2 separate regions of the Homo sapiens genome follow, and region 1 is linked to region 2. Evidence: promoter capture Hi-C in 16 types of primary human blood cells and fetal thymus (Javierre and others, 2016). All regions are on one chromosome and are shown on one strand. The core of a region is centred on a gene start or on the middle of the fragment in contact, and the rest is flanking DNA. Distances in the headings are between cores, read along the strand shown. Region 1 overlaps CAND1.11 (a long non-coding RNA gene). Region 2 holds the start of IRAG1 (inositol 1,4,5-triphosphate receptor associated 1).

Region 1 (7,210 bases), core at 4,023-6,522, 260 kb after region 2:
CCTTTTTTTTTTTTTTCCTTTTTTTCTGAGACAGGATCTCACTCTGTCATCCAGGGTGGAGTGCAGTGGCACGATCATGGTTTGCTGTAACTTCAACTTCCCGGGCTCAAACAATCCTCCCACCTAAGCCTCCCAACTAGCTGAGACTACAGGTGTGCACCACTTTGCCCAGCTAGTTTTTTAATTTTTTTGTAGGGACGGGGTTTCACTATATTGCCCAGGCTGGTCTTGAACTCCTGGACTCAAACAATCCTCCCACTTCAGCCTCTGAAAGTTCTGGGATTATAGGCATGAGCTGGGATTTTAATCAACTGAGACATTTTCTTGGGCCTTATTATGCAACGCCTTTTAAATTTCCATCTCTTACTATCCGGAAACTAGAAACAGTCAATTTTTTCAATTCTACAGGCCTCAGTATTCTGAATTTTCTCTATTTTAGTTAATTTCTACTGGCAAACAGGCAACTCTTTTTTAAATTTTTTAAAATTTAGACCTAATTCGCATACCATGATATTCACTGTTTTTAAAGTGTACAACTCAGTGGTATTTACTATACTTACAAAGTTGTGCAACCATCACCACTATCTAATTTCAGAATATTATCACCAGCCCCAAAAGAAACCTTGGAACCATTAACAGTCACTCTCCATTTACCACTTCTCCTCTCTCCTAGAAACCATTAATCTACTATCTGTAGATATGGATATGGATTTGCATATTCTAGACATTTCAGATAAATGAAATAATATAATACACGGCCTTTTGTGTCCAATTTCTTTCAGTTAATGTTTTCGAGGTTCAGCCATGTTGTAATGAGAATCAGTACTTTATTTCTTTATATGGATGAATCATATTCCATTGTATAGACACACTATTTTTTTTAATCCGTTCATCGGTGGATGGACATGAGGGTTGTTTCCACTTTTGAGCTATTATAAATAATTGTGCCACGAAAAATTATATACAGATTTTTATGGGAATGTGTGTGTTTTATAGCTCTTAGATAGGTACCTAAGAGTGGAATTGATGGGTCATACAGGAATTGTATGTTTAACATTTTGACGAACTTTCAAACTATTTTCCAAACTAGTAACACCATATGACTTCCCACCAGCAGTGTATAAGGGTTCCAATTTCTCCACATCCTCACCAGCGCTTGTCATTGTCTCTATTTAATCACAGTCATGTTAGTGAGTAGGAAGTGGTATCCCATTTTAGGTTTAATTTGCATTTCCCTAATGACTAATGATTTTGAGCATCTTTTCATGTGCTTCTTGTCCATTTGTGTATCTTATTTGGAAAAAACATCTATCAAATCCTTTGTGCATTTAAAAATTAGGTTATTTCTTTTTGTTATTGAGTTATAATAGTTCTTTATATATTCTGGATACTAGATGTTTATCAGATACACATGACTTGCAAATATTTTCTCAAGTTCTGAGTTGTCTTTTCACTCTCTTTATAGTGTTCTTTGAAACACTTAATAGTGTCCTTTAATTTTGATGAAGACTGTTTTTTCTTTTGTTGCTTGTGCTTTTGGTATCATATGTAAGAAATCATTGCATAATCCAAGGCCATGTATACCTATGTTTTCTTCTAAGAGTATTATAGTTTTAGCTCTTAAGTTTAGATCTTTGATAATTTTGAATTAATTTTTGTGTACAGTGTGAGTAGTAGTCCAACTTCATTCTTTTGCATGGATATCCAGTTTTCTCAGCTCCATTTGTTGAAGAGACTATTCATTCCTTATTGAATGGTCTTGGCACCTTTATTGAAAATCAATTGGCTATAAATACGTGGGCTAATTTCTGGACTCTCTGTTGATTGATTTATATATCTATCCTTATGCTAGTACCACACTATCTTTATTATTACACTTTGTAGTAAGTTTTGAACCTGAAAATGTGAATGCCCCAACTTTGTTCTTCTTTCTCAAGATTATTTTGGCTATTCTGGATCCCTTGTATTTCCACATGAATTTTATTATCAGCTTGTCAATTTCTGCAAAAACCTGGCTGGGATTTTCTAATTTCATTCCGTTGTGGTTAGGGAACATACTGTATATTATTCAAAAGCATACATCAGTTTGGGGAGTACTGCCATCTTACAATATTGAGTCTTCCAATTTGTGAATATGCGATGTCTTCATTTATTTAGGTCTTCTTTAATTTCCTTTAGCAGTGTTTCATCTTTTTTTAGTGTGCAAATATTGCAATTCTTTTGTTAAGTTTGTCTCTACATATATTATTCTTTTTGATGCTACTGTAAATGGAATTATTTTCTTAATTTCATTTTTGGATTGTTCATTATTAGTGTACAGAAATACAAGCAATTTCTGTATATTAACCTTATATCCTGCAGCCTTGCTGAACTCATTGTTAGCTCTAAGATTTTTTTTGTGGATTCCCTTGATATTCTATATTCAGTAAGATGTTATCTGCAAGTAAAGATCATTCTACTTCTTTCTTTCAAATATAGATGCCAATTTTTTTCTTGATCAAGTTCCCTAACTACAACCTCCAGTACAATGTTGAATAGAAGTAACAAGAGTGGACATCCTTGTTTCATTCCTATCTTAGGGGAAAGCTTTTATTCTTTCACCTTTAGGTATGATGTTAGCTGTGGGGTTTTCATATATGCTTTTTAGAAGATTGAGAAAGTTTCTTTCTAATTCCTACTTTGTTGTGTGTTTTGACCATGAAAAGGTGCTGGTTTTTGTCAAATGCTTTTTCTTCATCTATTAAGATGATAATGTGGTTTTTGTCCTTTATACTATTAATATGGCATATTACATTTATTGATTTTTGCATGTTGAATCAATCTTGCATTCCTGCCATAAGTCCTGCTTTGTCATGGTATAAAATACTTTTTATATGTTGCTGATTCAGTTTCCCGGTATTTTTATGAGGATTTTGCATCTATATTTATAAGGAATATTGGTTTCTGCTTGTGATATTTTGTTCTGCCTTTGGTATCAAAGTAATACTGCCTCATAGAATGACTTGGAAAATGTTCTCTCCTCTTATAATTTTTGGAAGTATTTGTGAAGTATTGGGCTTAACTCTTTAATACTAGGTATTATAAAATTCACCAGTGAGGCCATTTGTCATCTACTTTTCTTTGTGGCAAGTACTTTTAATCACTAATTCAATCTCTTTACTTGTTACAGGTCTGTTTCAATTTTCTATTTCTTCTTGAGTCAATTTCAGTAATTTGTGTCTTTCTAGGAATCTGTTCATTTTATCTAGATTATCTAACACATTAGCACACAAGTGTTCATAATATTACCTTATATTCCTTTCTATTTTTGCAAGGTCGGTAGCAACATCCCCTCTTTCATTCTTGATTTTAGTAATTTGATTCTGTCTCTCTCTCTCTGTCTCTCTCTCTCTCTCTCTCTATGCTCTCCCTCTCTCTCTCTCTCTCTGTCAGTCAAGGTAAAGGTCTGTTAATTTTGTTGACCTTTTCAAAGAACCAACTTTTGGGTTTGTTTTTTTTTCTCTATTCTTTTCTATTTACATTTCATTCCTTTCTGCTCTAATCTTTATTGGTTTCCTCCTTCTGCTTGTTCTGGGTTTAGTTTGCTCTTGTTTTTCTAGTTCCTTAAGGTAGAAGTTTAGGTTACTAATATGAGTTCTTTGTCCTTTTTTCAATTTGGGTGTTTATAGCTATAATATTCTCTAAGCACTGCTTTGGTTTCATCCCATAAGTTTTGGTATGTCATGTTTTTATTTTCATTCATCTCAAAGTATTTTCTAGTTTTGTCTGTGATTTCTTCTTTGACTCATTGATTATTCAGAAATGTTCTTTAATTTCCATATATTTGTGAATTTCCCTCTGTTATTGATTTCTAATCTCATTCTGTGTGGTTAGGAAACATACTTTATATTATTTCAGAACTTTGAAATTTACTGAAACTTGTTTAATGACCTGACATATGGTCTAAACTGGAGAATTCTCCATGTGCACTTAAGAAGAATGTATAGTCAGTTGTTTCTGAGTGAAGGGTTATATTGCTATTAGATCTAGTATGTTTATATTGGTATTTAGTCTCTATTCCCATATTGATTTTCTGTCTAGTTGCTCTATCCATGATTGAAAGTGGTGTATTGAAGTCTTCAACCATTATTGTATCAATTCTGTCAGTTTTTGTTTCATGTATTTTGGGTCTCTGTTGTTAGGTGCATATATGTTTATAATTTTTATATCTTCTTGACAAATTGATTTATTTATAATTATAAAACTGTTCTTTGTCTCTGATAACAATTTTTGTCTTAAAGTCTATTTTGTCTGATATTAGTATAGCCACTCCAGCTTTCTTTTGGTTACTGTTTGCCTGATATATGTTTTTCCATTCTTTTACCTTGAACCTATTTCTGTTTTTGAATCAAACATGTGTCTCTTATATGCAGCATATAGTTGGATCATGTATTGTCCATTCTGCAAGTCTCTGGCCAGTCCTATTCTGAAGTTTTCTTGTAATACTTGCCAAATGCAGAAATAGTAGCCAACACATCTACTAATGTTCTGTTTTTCAGTCTCTTTTCCTAGAGATGCCATATAAGTAAATATGAAGCTTGCCTCCCAAGTTAGATTGGTTAGTAATATTTTGGCACAACATAACATGCATTGACATATTTCTGGTCTCCAACACCAGGCTTCCTCTCAGCACACCATCAGCTATTATAGCAGTGCCCTATTTCAATGTACCTATATCTGTCTTAGTATGATATTTATATTAGTCATAGTATGATAAACTATACCCTAGTAATAAATTAACTCAAAAATCTTAGTGTCTATTCACAATAGCCAAGATTTGGAAACAACCTAAGTGTCCATCAATAGACAAAGGGATAAAGAAAATGTAATACATATACACAATGGAGTACTATTCAGTCATTAAATAAATGAGATCCTGTCATTTGCAAAAATATGGATAGAACTGGAGGTCATTATGTTAAGTGAAATAAGCCAGACACAGTTAGACAAATTTCACATGTTCTCACTTATTTGTGAGAGCTAAAAACTAAAACAATTGAATCATGGAGATAGAGAGCAGAATGATGGTTACTGAGGGCTGGAAGGGTAGTTGGTGGGGTGAGGGGGAAGAGAGATTCATCAGTGGGTACAAAAAATAGAAAGAAATAAGATCTAGAATTTGACAGTACAACAGGGTGGCTATCATTAACGATAATTTAATTATATATTTTAAATTACTAAAACTGTGTAATGGGATTGTTTGTAACACAAAGAAAGAATAAATGTTTGAGGTGATGATACTCCATTTACCCTGATGTGACTATTATACATTGTATGCACATATCAAAAGATCCTATATACCCCATAAACATATACACCTACTATGTAGCCACAAAAACTAAACATTAAAAAAACACTTTTAAGTTTAAATCTTAGCAGTCTAACCCAACAAAGGTTTATTTCTCACTCATGTCACCATCCAAGGCAGGTCAGGTAACTCCTGTGTGGCTTTCTCCAAGCAGTAAAGATGTTCCCATCTGGCAATTTAGGCATTTCAGAGCTCTTCACTTCTGGAGCCATAGAAAGGAGTGAAGAGGAGTGGCTGATAATGCAGCGGGGCCAGGGGGCGGGGGTGTTATTTCCAGGATAGAAAACGGCACAAAGTTTTCTGCTTACTTCTGATGGGCTACACATCACATAACTCCAAATCAACTGCAACAGAAATAGGGACTTTATAGGAACACATTGGTATTTGGTGATCACTAGTAGTCTCCACCACACCCCATTCCATAAACAAATCAAAATTTCACTTTGAAAGGGGAGAAGAGTGTCTAGAGTCAACTATTTTATGAATACAGGCCATGTAGGGTTCTAAGAAGCATCATGATTAAGTGGTTTTAGCTCTGGAGCCAGTCCATCTGGGTTCAAATCTTGGATCTGCTGTCTATTAATTATGTCACCTTAGGCATACTTAAGCCCTATAAGCTTCGGTTTCTTCATCTGTAAAGTGGGGATTAAATATTACCTACCTCCTAGGTTTATTGTCAACATGAAATGAGACATTTCAGTGCAGTACCTAGCATACATTAAATGTATAACAGATATAACCTATTATTAGCTAAAGAGCTAGAAAATAATGGGACATGAAATAAAACCATACAGATAATATTATAACTGTTAATGATATTTCCCTCTGCATACCTGATTGGAAGTGCTCTTGTCTGGGGGCTCTAAGCAGTGGCAGGAAACAGGAGGCAAGACAGATGAGGCGCTAATAGGCCTACTTATATGAGATGAACAGGCATCTGATAATGGTATTAGCTCTCAGAAGTGCATTAGTCCAGGCATGAGAATGCCCCCCTGAGGACTAAGAGAGGAGAGACTTAATTGAAGTTCAATTTAAATCTCAATCATATCCCTACTCACAGGAGAGTAGAGCTGCCTGCCTGGTGGCAAGAAGCTTGGACTCTACTTGGGCTGCCTCTGATATTTCAAACCACTCTGTAGATCTGCGAATCCCAGTGGGAGAGTCTAGAGGGAAAATGGCAAGTGTGAATCTTCCAGCACCATTCTGGGAAGCAGGACTAGGAGCTCTTGTTGTTGCCGCAGCTAAGAGGTGATACTACAAGGGGATCAGTGAGATAACGTAATTCATCTGAGCTGTGCACAGTCAATCTGCTGTCTGAATTCAGGGTCTTCATCCGAGAGATGATAGAGCCTAGTGGTTAAGAGCACAGGTTCCAGAGTCAGACTTGCTGAGTTCAAGTCCTAGCTCCTCCCTTGAGTTGATTGTGTGAATCTAAAGAAGTCACTAAGTCCTTCAAGCCTTAGATTATTCATCTGTAAACTGGGATTTGTATTATTGTCTTGGATGTCTTCTATTTGCCCTTCCATATGTGCTCTCATTCCTCTCTACCCTGACCTGTGTCCCAGGAGGATGGCCTATATGAACCACATCCAGGGACTCCTTTGCCCTCTGGCTTCTAGTTGCACCCATGAAATGGGAAGGTGGGAGGAGAGTGACATCTTGGTGCTTATTCCCCTGGTACCCACACCACTGGGTTGCTAAGGGTTGGTTATGACCCTCTCCCAGAGACTGAAACTACTTTCAGGCAGCCTTTTGACAGCTCTTTCCATAGGTTCCAGAAGCCACTACCTCCTCTTTCCCCTTCAGGCCTGGGATGGTAACAGCTCCCATACTCACTAGCCCCAAGATACTGCAACATCCTTT
Region 2 (7,518 bases), core at 2,612-5,111:
ATGTTCAGTATGTAAAGTGGGTGACAGTGCCTGACACCATGTTCAGTAAATGATACCTGTCATTGTTGCCTGGGTGCAGTTCCTAGAGATGTGGTCTCTTATTTGCTCACTCACTCATCCAGGGCTGAGTGCTGAGCATATCACAGAGTTCCTAAGTCTAAAAGGGGTAGGGAAGTCAAAACACCCAGTGAAGTCAACCGAGCAAGTGATCGCAGAGCTGGCAGCATTCTTGGCAAGAAGCTGTTTTTCCTTGCTTGGCTCCCCTTGGTGCAAGGATATGTCTTTTGCCTGAGACTCTAAAACTTCTTCCCTGGCCTTGGATTAAATGGCCTGTTGGGAGAGCCTCCCCGAGCTATGTGCCAGTCTGCCTCTGCTGGGCCCCTGCTTTTAGGCGGAGGACACATGACTGTCTCTGATGGGAATGAGTGAGAAGCTGAAGATTTTGGGAGAGCGAGGCCAAATCCCTGTGTGGCTCCAGGAACAAGGATAAATATAGCCAGAGTAATTGCTCATGCTCTTTTAAGGATTAAAAGTCAGCTTTTGGGCAAGCTGTGAAGCTCCATGATAGCAAGGGACACAGTTCCTTTTTTAGAACTGTGGTCAGCACTCCTTGTGCGTTGCTGGATCCCAGGCCTCCATGACGCTATTCCCAGTGGAGTAAAGGGATCGCCTTCACTGGTCTACCTGACACAAGGGAGGGATGGGTCTGAAGTGTTCCTGCCACATCCCATTGTCCCACATGATGTCTGGCACACTAAAGGTGCCCAATGAGCATTTTTAAATGGATGAGTGAGCTGTGAGAAATTTATGCTTTTAAAAATAACCTTTAGGATAAGATGTGTAGTCTAGTTAACAGTAGCATCCCAGTGCCAATTTCCTGGCTTTGAAATATACTGTACAACACCGATGTAAGATGTCTCCGTTGGGGAAGCTGGGTAAACGGTATGTAGGAGTCTTTGTACTATTTTAGTAACTTCCTGTGTATCTATAATTATTCCAAAGTAAGAAGTAAAAAAAAATAATAACCTTTAGTCAGGATCATGACAATACCCTTTGACACTTGGGGGAAGCAGTGCTGGAAGATGAATTGAGTAAATCCCTGTTTACAGCAATGCTTTTGTTTTGTTATTATTTATTAATGTAAACACATGTTTTGCTCATATGATTCAAAACTTTAAATGTATCAATAAGGTGTAACCATGGTCAGTCTTTACCCCAGCCACTTAGTTTTATTCCCCATTGGCCACTAATCTAAATGTTATTCATTTCTTGTGCTAATTTTAGAGATGATATGCATACTCACATATGAACTTGTGTGTATACATGAATGCAAGTATATATATGTATTTGCGTGTATATATGTACATATTACAATATGTACACACACACACACACACTCTTTTTCACTCAAATAGTAGCATTTGATAGACACTGTTATTTTAGTTTTTCTACTTAATGTATCTTGGAATCTTTTCAGATCAGTACACCAAGAGCTTCCTCACCCTTTGTTGTGGCTGCACTCCATCTTCTGTTATGGCCCCAGTTGCTAGACATTTATGTTGTTTCCAATCCTTTTGCTTTTGTAAATAATGCTGCAATGAATAATCTTGTTCGTTTGTCGTTTCCCAAGTGTGGGAGTGTGTTTATAGAATAAATTCCTAGAAGTGGAATCGGGTCAAAGGGTATAATCTTGATAGTGCTAAGTTGTCCTCTATAGAACTTGTTCCATTTTTACACACTGACAAGTCATGTGTTTTATAAAATGGTATTGCTAATGCAATGATTAAAAAGTTATTTGGTGATGCCTTTGTGTGGTGAAAGCTGTGGGTCTTTACCCAAGAGAAACATAAACCACGTAGTGGCTTACATGCAATTTCAGTTGGCTCAGAGACCCCTGAAGGTTATCCGTGAACCCTGGGTTCAGAAACCCTGGCTGAAACGGAGGCAGCATGATAAAGAGGACAGAGCTTTAGGGACAGACCACCTGAATTCACATCTCAGTGCTGTCACTTATTTACTGGCTGTGGAACATCAAGCAAGTTGTTTTACTTCTTCCAGCCTCAGTTTCCTTTTGAAGGAAAGGCGTAGACACTTGTGAGGATAGAGTGCTTTTATGTAAATCATCTAATCTAATGCTAGGAATATAGTAGGTACTCAATATGATATATGATTTTGAACTCTCTCTCTCTCTCTCTCACACACACACACACACACACACACACACACACACAGCCAGCCCTAAGTTCCATTTCAACTTCTGATTTTGATTGTCCCTGTAGTGCCTGCTGCTGGACTCACAAGATCAACCTTTGAAGCGACATTCCCTAATGTGGGATCCTTGGACCAAGTACATGAGAATCACCCAAGGGCCTTCACTAAAATGCAGATTTCTGGGTCTATGTCAGATCCATAGAATTAGAATTTCTGAAAGAGGAACCCAAGGAGCTTCACACTTGGGGGTTCTAATGCACATTGAAGTTGGAGAAACAGCACTGAAGAGTTTGGTCAGTTCCTTCTAGACCATATACTTGCAATTCTAGTAGTTACCACCATGTGGCTTTGTGGGGGACGGGGGTTGTGGGGGGAGCCTGTACCTCCATGTGGACAGGTGTGGACACTTGAGAGAAAGCATGGCTAGTACCCAAGACAGCCTCCTCTGGTTTCATTTACAAAAAACAATTATTGATGAGGGTAGCGGACTTCATGCGCTGCACCCCTGTTAGTGATCTCTCTTACAACAACCACACAGAAGAGACAGGACTTCCTGAGAACCACATGCCTGAGGAAGGTGCTGGGATGGAGGCTCAGTGGGCCAGGCTCAGTGGAGAGCATCTGCCACTGCTGCACAACTGATCTGTGGCCAGGAGCTGAGCATAAGGACTGTGTTTGCCAGGAGAGCTTGAGGCCATAGGCCTGGGAGCTCCAATCCCTAGTGCTCTCTACCATGACTACTGAATGTTTTCTGGGTGGCTAATGATGGCCAAAAGCTAGGGTTCCCGGATTTATCAAACAAAAATAGAGGATGACTAATTAAATTTGAATTTCAGATAAATAACAGTCTTTAATACAAGTATGTCCTGTGTTTATCTGAAATCCAAATTTAAATGGGTGTCCTGTAATTTATCTAGCAACTTTACCTAGGGTTTCTCTGTGCTGCTCTAACCACAGAAGGGGCTGAAGTCCCCATGTGGCTTGCCCCCAGCTTGGAGCTCCATGATCCTGGCCTTGGGTAGGCCCTATACCCAAGGCAGGTGAAGAGTGTGTATGGACAGGGTATGGATTTCCTGGGCAGGGGCAGGAAGCTCATTCATACTGATCTAGCTCTTATGAGATGCTGGCAGTGTGTTAAACACTTGACTAACATCTCATTTAATCCCCTGACTACCTAGTGAGTCGGGCATTATCATTATTATTTCCACTTTAGAGATGAGGAGACTGAGGCTCCACGATGTTAAGACCACAGGCTGTTTAATGGAGGAGCAAGGTTGACATCCCTGGGGCTGGTGCCAAGTCTGGGAGTAGCTGAATCTCCCAGGCCATTCTCTCTGGCAATCCCAAGAGTTTAACGCAGTGGGAGCAGCCCCTGCCCCCGAATCCCCAGGACAGGAACCATTCCCAGTTTCTCTTGGCGCTGGCCCAGGGTCTTCTCCAGGCTCACATGCTTGCTGGAGGCTCCAGGCGGGTGGGGAGATCTGCAGGGTCCCTTTGTTCCCGTCCGGCCAGGACAGTGTCCAGTGGCACGAGTTGCCATGGGGACTGCCATCTGCTGTGTGGATACCCATCGGAGGGGCCCAGGGTGAGCGACTGCCCCAAAGGCCCAGCCTGCCCTGAGCCCTGAGGCCAGCTGGTCGGCTTTCCCTGCCATTATCCCCCGAGCCAGGCCGGAGTGGGGCTCCCAGAGGAGCTCTCGGCTCTAAGTCCCAGCCCCTCTCAGAGGAGGCGTGCGGCCGAGGTTCTGCAGCCAGAGGCTTCTCGGCTCTGAGCTCCGGAGCCAGATGTAACATTGACCTTAAATGGTAAAAGCTCCCCAGAGTGAAGAGAGGCTGGCCAGAGGAGGAAAGGAGAATAACTCAGTTTTAGGTAAGCCTCCCCTATATCCTAGAATAACCTGCCTCTTCGGCTGGGAAGCGGAGGGAACCTTCTCTTCCTTAAAGGTACAGGGTGCTGGGATGGGGGTGCTAAACTTTAACTTTCCAGGGGAGCTGGCTTTGTTGGGTGGCATTTCAGCTGAGTATCTTTATTGTTGCTGTCTTAAGTTTTAAATCAGAAGTGAATCTTGCCAGTCCTAACTTAACTAGATTGTGCTCCTTTTGCTTGCCGTTGGAAAGTGTGCACAGCTCAGGGTGAAAATGTGGGTCCTGACAGGCGATTGCAACCCCTAGCTTTCCTGTGGGCCCCTTTGTGGCAACAGTGGGGTCTTCAGCTTTGGCAAGTCTGCTAAGCAGAGCTTTCTCCCCTCTGTGCTTCCTGTGTCTCTCTCTCTGTCCCCCTACGCCCCTCTGCCTTGAACCTGGGCTGGCATGACCTGTCTAGATCCTTAAGCCTGCCTCTATTTCTGTCTCTGCCCTTCCCATCCTGTGTTCTTGTCACAGTCCCTGTTTTTATCTCTGTCCCTGTCTCCTCTTTTGTCTCCAGCTTCCCCTGGCCTGTGCCCTTCCCTGCTCCCTAGAGGGGGTGTATGTGCCCGGCCCGTGCCCGGCCCTGCTCACCTCCAGGGCTCCGAGTTGAAGCGATTCCTAGAGTGAGCACCATTTGAACTGGCTTTTTCCAAAGGAAAAGCCAGTGGAAGCCAGAGGCCAGAGAGAGGCCCAGCTGTCTTGCTCCCTCCTGCCCAGGAAACAGTTGTAAAGGCTATAGAGGCTCTGCAGTTTGAGTAAACAGCAGCCCGGGGTCTGGGACCCCTGGCCAGCACTCCAGCCTCCCAGAGCTCGGCAGCTGCTGAACACTCTTCAGGCTGCTCACTGGGGTGGCACAGGGAAGTAAATCTGGTCTGAGCAGAGTCTTTTGCAGGGAAAAGGAGGAAGCTTCCTGGGACTGTGAGGCTGGGGGTCCAAAGGAGTCAGGACCTGCCAAGGATTGTATTGCCCCCACCGAGGGACGATGACATGCTAGTGAGGCAGGTGGAGTTGCCCATCCCCCTGCACTCCCCTACCCCAACAGTTCTATGGGGGAGGGAACTCAGGTTAAGTGACTTGCCTAAGGTCGTTCCACCAAGATGGAGCGGAGCTAGGACTCAAACCCTGTATGAGTTTGTATGACTCTAACTCCAGTGCCCATGCCTCTCAACACAGACGTGAATGCCAGGGTATGATGCTGCCTCCAATTGTGTCTTGCGATTTTTGACCTAATGGACAAAACAGTTGTCATTATCATGTTTGTACTGTCCATGATTCCATAGTGCGTGTATGTGTGTGTGTGTGCATGCATATTTGGTGGGTGGCTGTTTATATTCACAGCGGATGCACCTATCTTTATGCTTGGAGGTAAGGGAGGCATTCCTGTATCCTTTATCATCTTGGAGGGATAACCATGTGCTAGCTGCTACTACATGATTGGTTATCCCCATAAATATATTTCTGAAAGAAAATAAACAGCAAACACATGGTTCTTACTATGTATTGAACACTGTTCCCCTTCCCATACAGTAACTCATGACTCCCACAGCTCTACAAAGCAGGGGTCATTCTTTCCACCCTGGTCTTGTAGAGGAGGACACTTTAGCACAGAGAGACTGCACAGCTGATGCTCAGCCCCAGGCCATGGTCTCTGGAGGCTCTGCTCTTGACCTCCATGGTCAGCTCCCGTCTGCTTGGGACCCCATGTCAGAGTGCAGCGGGGGAATCACCGGCCCCCTTGCAACATGGTGCATCTGAGGCTTTCCACGAGGGATTTCACATGCCCCCTCACAGAATGCCATGGGGGATGTATCTTTACCTTACTGCTCCAGGTGAGGACAGTGGGGCTAGGGGATGTTAAATGACTCGTCCAAGCTCACCCAGCCACCAAGTGACAAAGCAGGGAATTTAAATAGTATCTTGGGTGAGGAAGTTAGGGCCATGTGAAACCTACTTGAAACTGAATCCCTGGGAGGCTGAGGAGGCTCATGGTTTGGGGATGAGGAGTTCTGTGGGTCTGTGTGAGGAAGCTAGGTTCCTTGACTGATGGGCTGAACTATACGTGATGGGTCCTCAGCTTTCTAAAAAGCCCTGCCTTTCTCCTCTAAGTCTTTGTAACAGAGGTGGACAGAAGCACCCCACACCTCCTGGAGGAGCAGACTGAGCCCTGCAAGGGCGGAGACCTTATCCCGTTCCTCACCCGTTGTGTGTCTAGCACCCAGAATGCCGGGAGCACACGAAGTGCTCAGGTTCAATCATGTTTCTGTGAATAAATGGACACAATGCTTATAAAGTGGGTTCTGGTTACACAGGGCCCTGGGTTGATTTTGTACATGTGCCTGATGATCAGATTCATCTAGTTTGACCCTAAAGAACACAAGGTGGGGGCCTGAAGTTACCCACCTCTCTCACCCTGCCTCCTCTCCTGGGTCACCTCACAGAGCCTGGACTGCCCCTCAGCCGCTCTCTCTGGGGCTTATTGGTCAGCAGAGGGATTGTTTGCTGACTGAATAGAAGCAGAGGCCTGGGTAGATAGGGAGAAGAGAGCTTGGGGCCCCCAGACTCTGGCCCTGCCCCTGCCCCTTGGGGAGCTGAGTCAGAGGAGGGAGATGGAGAGCTGAGTTCTCAGGTAGTGAATGTAAAAGGAAACGGGAGAAAATTGGTATTAATTGAGCTTCTACTTTGTGCCAGGATCTGTGCTAGATCTGTTATTTAATTTAAGCCTCATGTTAGAGATGAGGAGAGAGGCATACAGCTGGTAGGTGGTGGACTCCAGCTCAAGCCACCTTGGTCCAAAGCGGGCGCTTCCTGCATTAGATGTCACCCTGCCGCTAGTTAGTAACTTAGGTCCTGGGGCAGTTACTGAGTGTCACAGTCCAAATCACAGGAAAATCACGAATAGAGGGAAAGGGGATATCATGTTAGTCCTGTGGACCTTGGAGGCTAGACTCTGAGTTCAGGCGACAGTCCAGGGCAGCCTCACAAATGGGCCTTCAAATTCAGAGTCTTAGCAGAGGTAACTCACGCCCATGACCCTGGACAAGCCCTGCCTTCTCTGCAAGGGCTTTCTCCAAGGGAGGTGGAAAGCAGAGGACAGTTGGTCGGACAGGAAACATTTTTTTTTTTTTTAGACAGGGTCTCGCACTGTCACCCAGGCTGGAGTGCAGTGGTGCAACCCCACCTCCCGGGTTCAAGCAATTCTCATGCCTCAGCCTCCCAAGTAGCTGGGATTACAGGTGAGTACCACCATGCCTGGCTAATTTTTACATTTTTAGTAAAGATGGAGTTTTGTCATGTTGCCCAGGCTGGTCTCGAACTCCTGACCTCAAGTGATCAGCCCACCTCAGCCTCCCAAAGTCTGGGATTATAGGCGTGAGCCATCGCACCCGGCCAGACTGAAAAC

The links. The method cuts DNA at HindIII sites, captures the fragments that hold promoters and counts their contacts. A CHiCAGO score of 5 or more calls a contact.
Region 1: a fragment that was not itself captured here is called in contact with the fragment with the promoter of IRAG1 in region 2 in 2 of 17 cell types (endothelial precursors and total B cells); the score reaches 6.2 in endothelial precursors.

The regions. Positions count from the first base shown.
Region 1 is chr11:10,428,875-10,436,084 of GRCh38, reverse strand. CAND1.11 (a long non-coding RNA gene) reads right to left here. Exons shown (of 4, transcript NR_103765.1): 4 at 5,412-5,709. Among named protein-coding and RNA genes, the nearest start is that of AMPD3, 23 kb to the left of the region's middle. The HindIII fragment of the contact is 1,388 bases long and covers 4,579-5,966 here.
Region 2 is chr11:10,690,098-10,697,615 of GRCh38, reverse strand. IRAG1 (inositol 1,4,5-triphosphate receptor associated 1) reads left to right here and starts at 3,861. Exons shown (of 21, transcript NM_130385.4): 1 at 3,861-4,080. The coding sequence starts at 4,014. The HindIII fragment of the contact is 5,409 bases long and covers 1-5,026 here.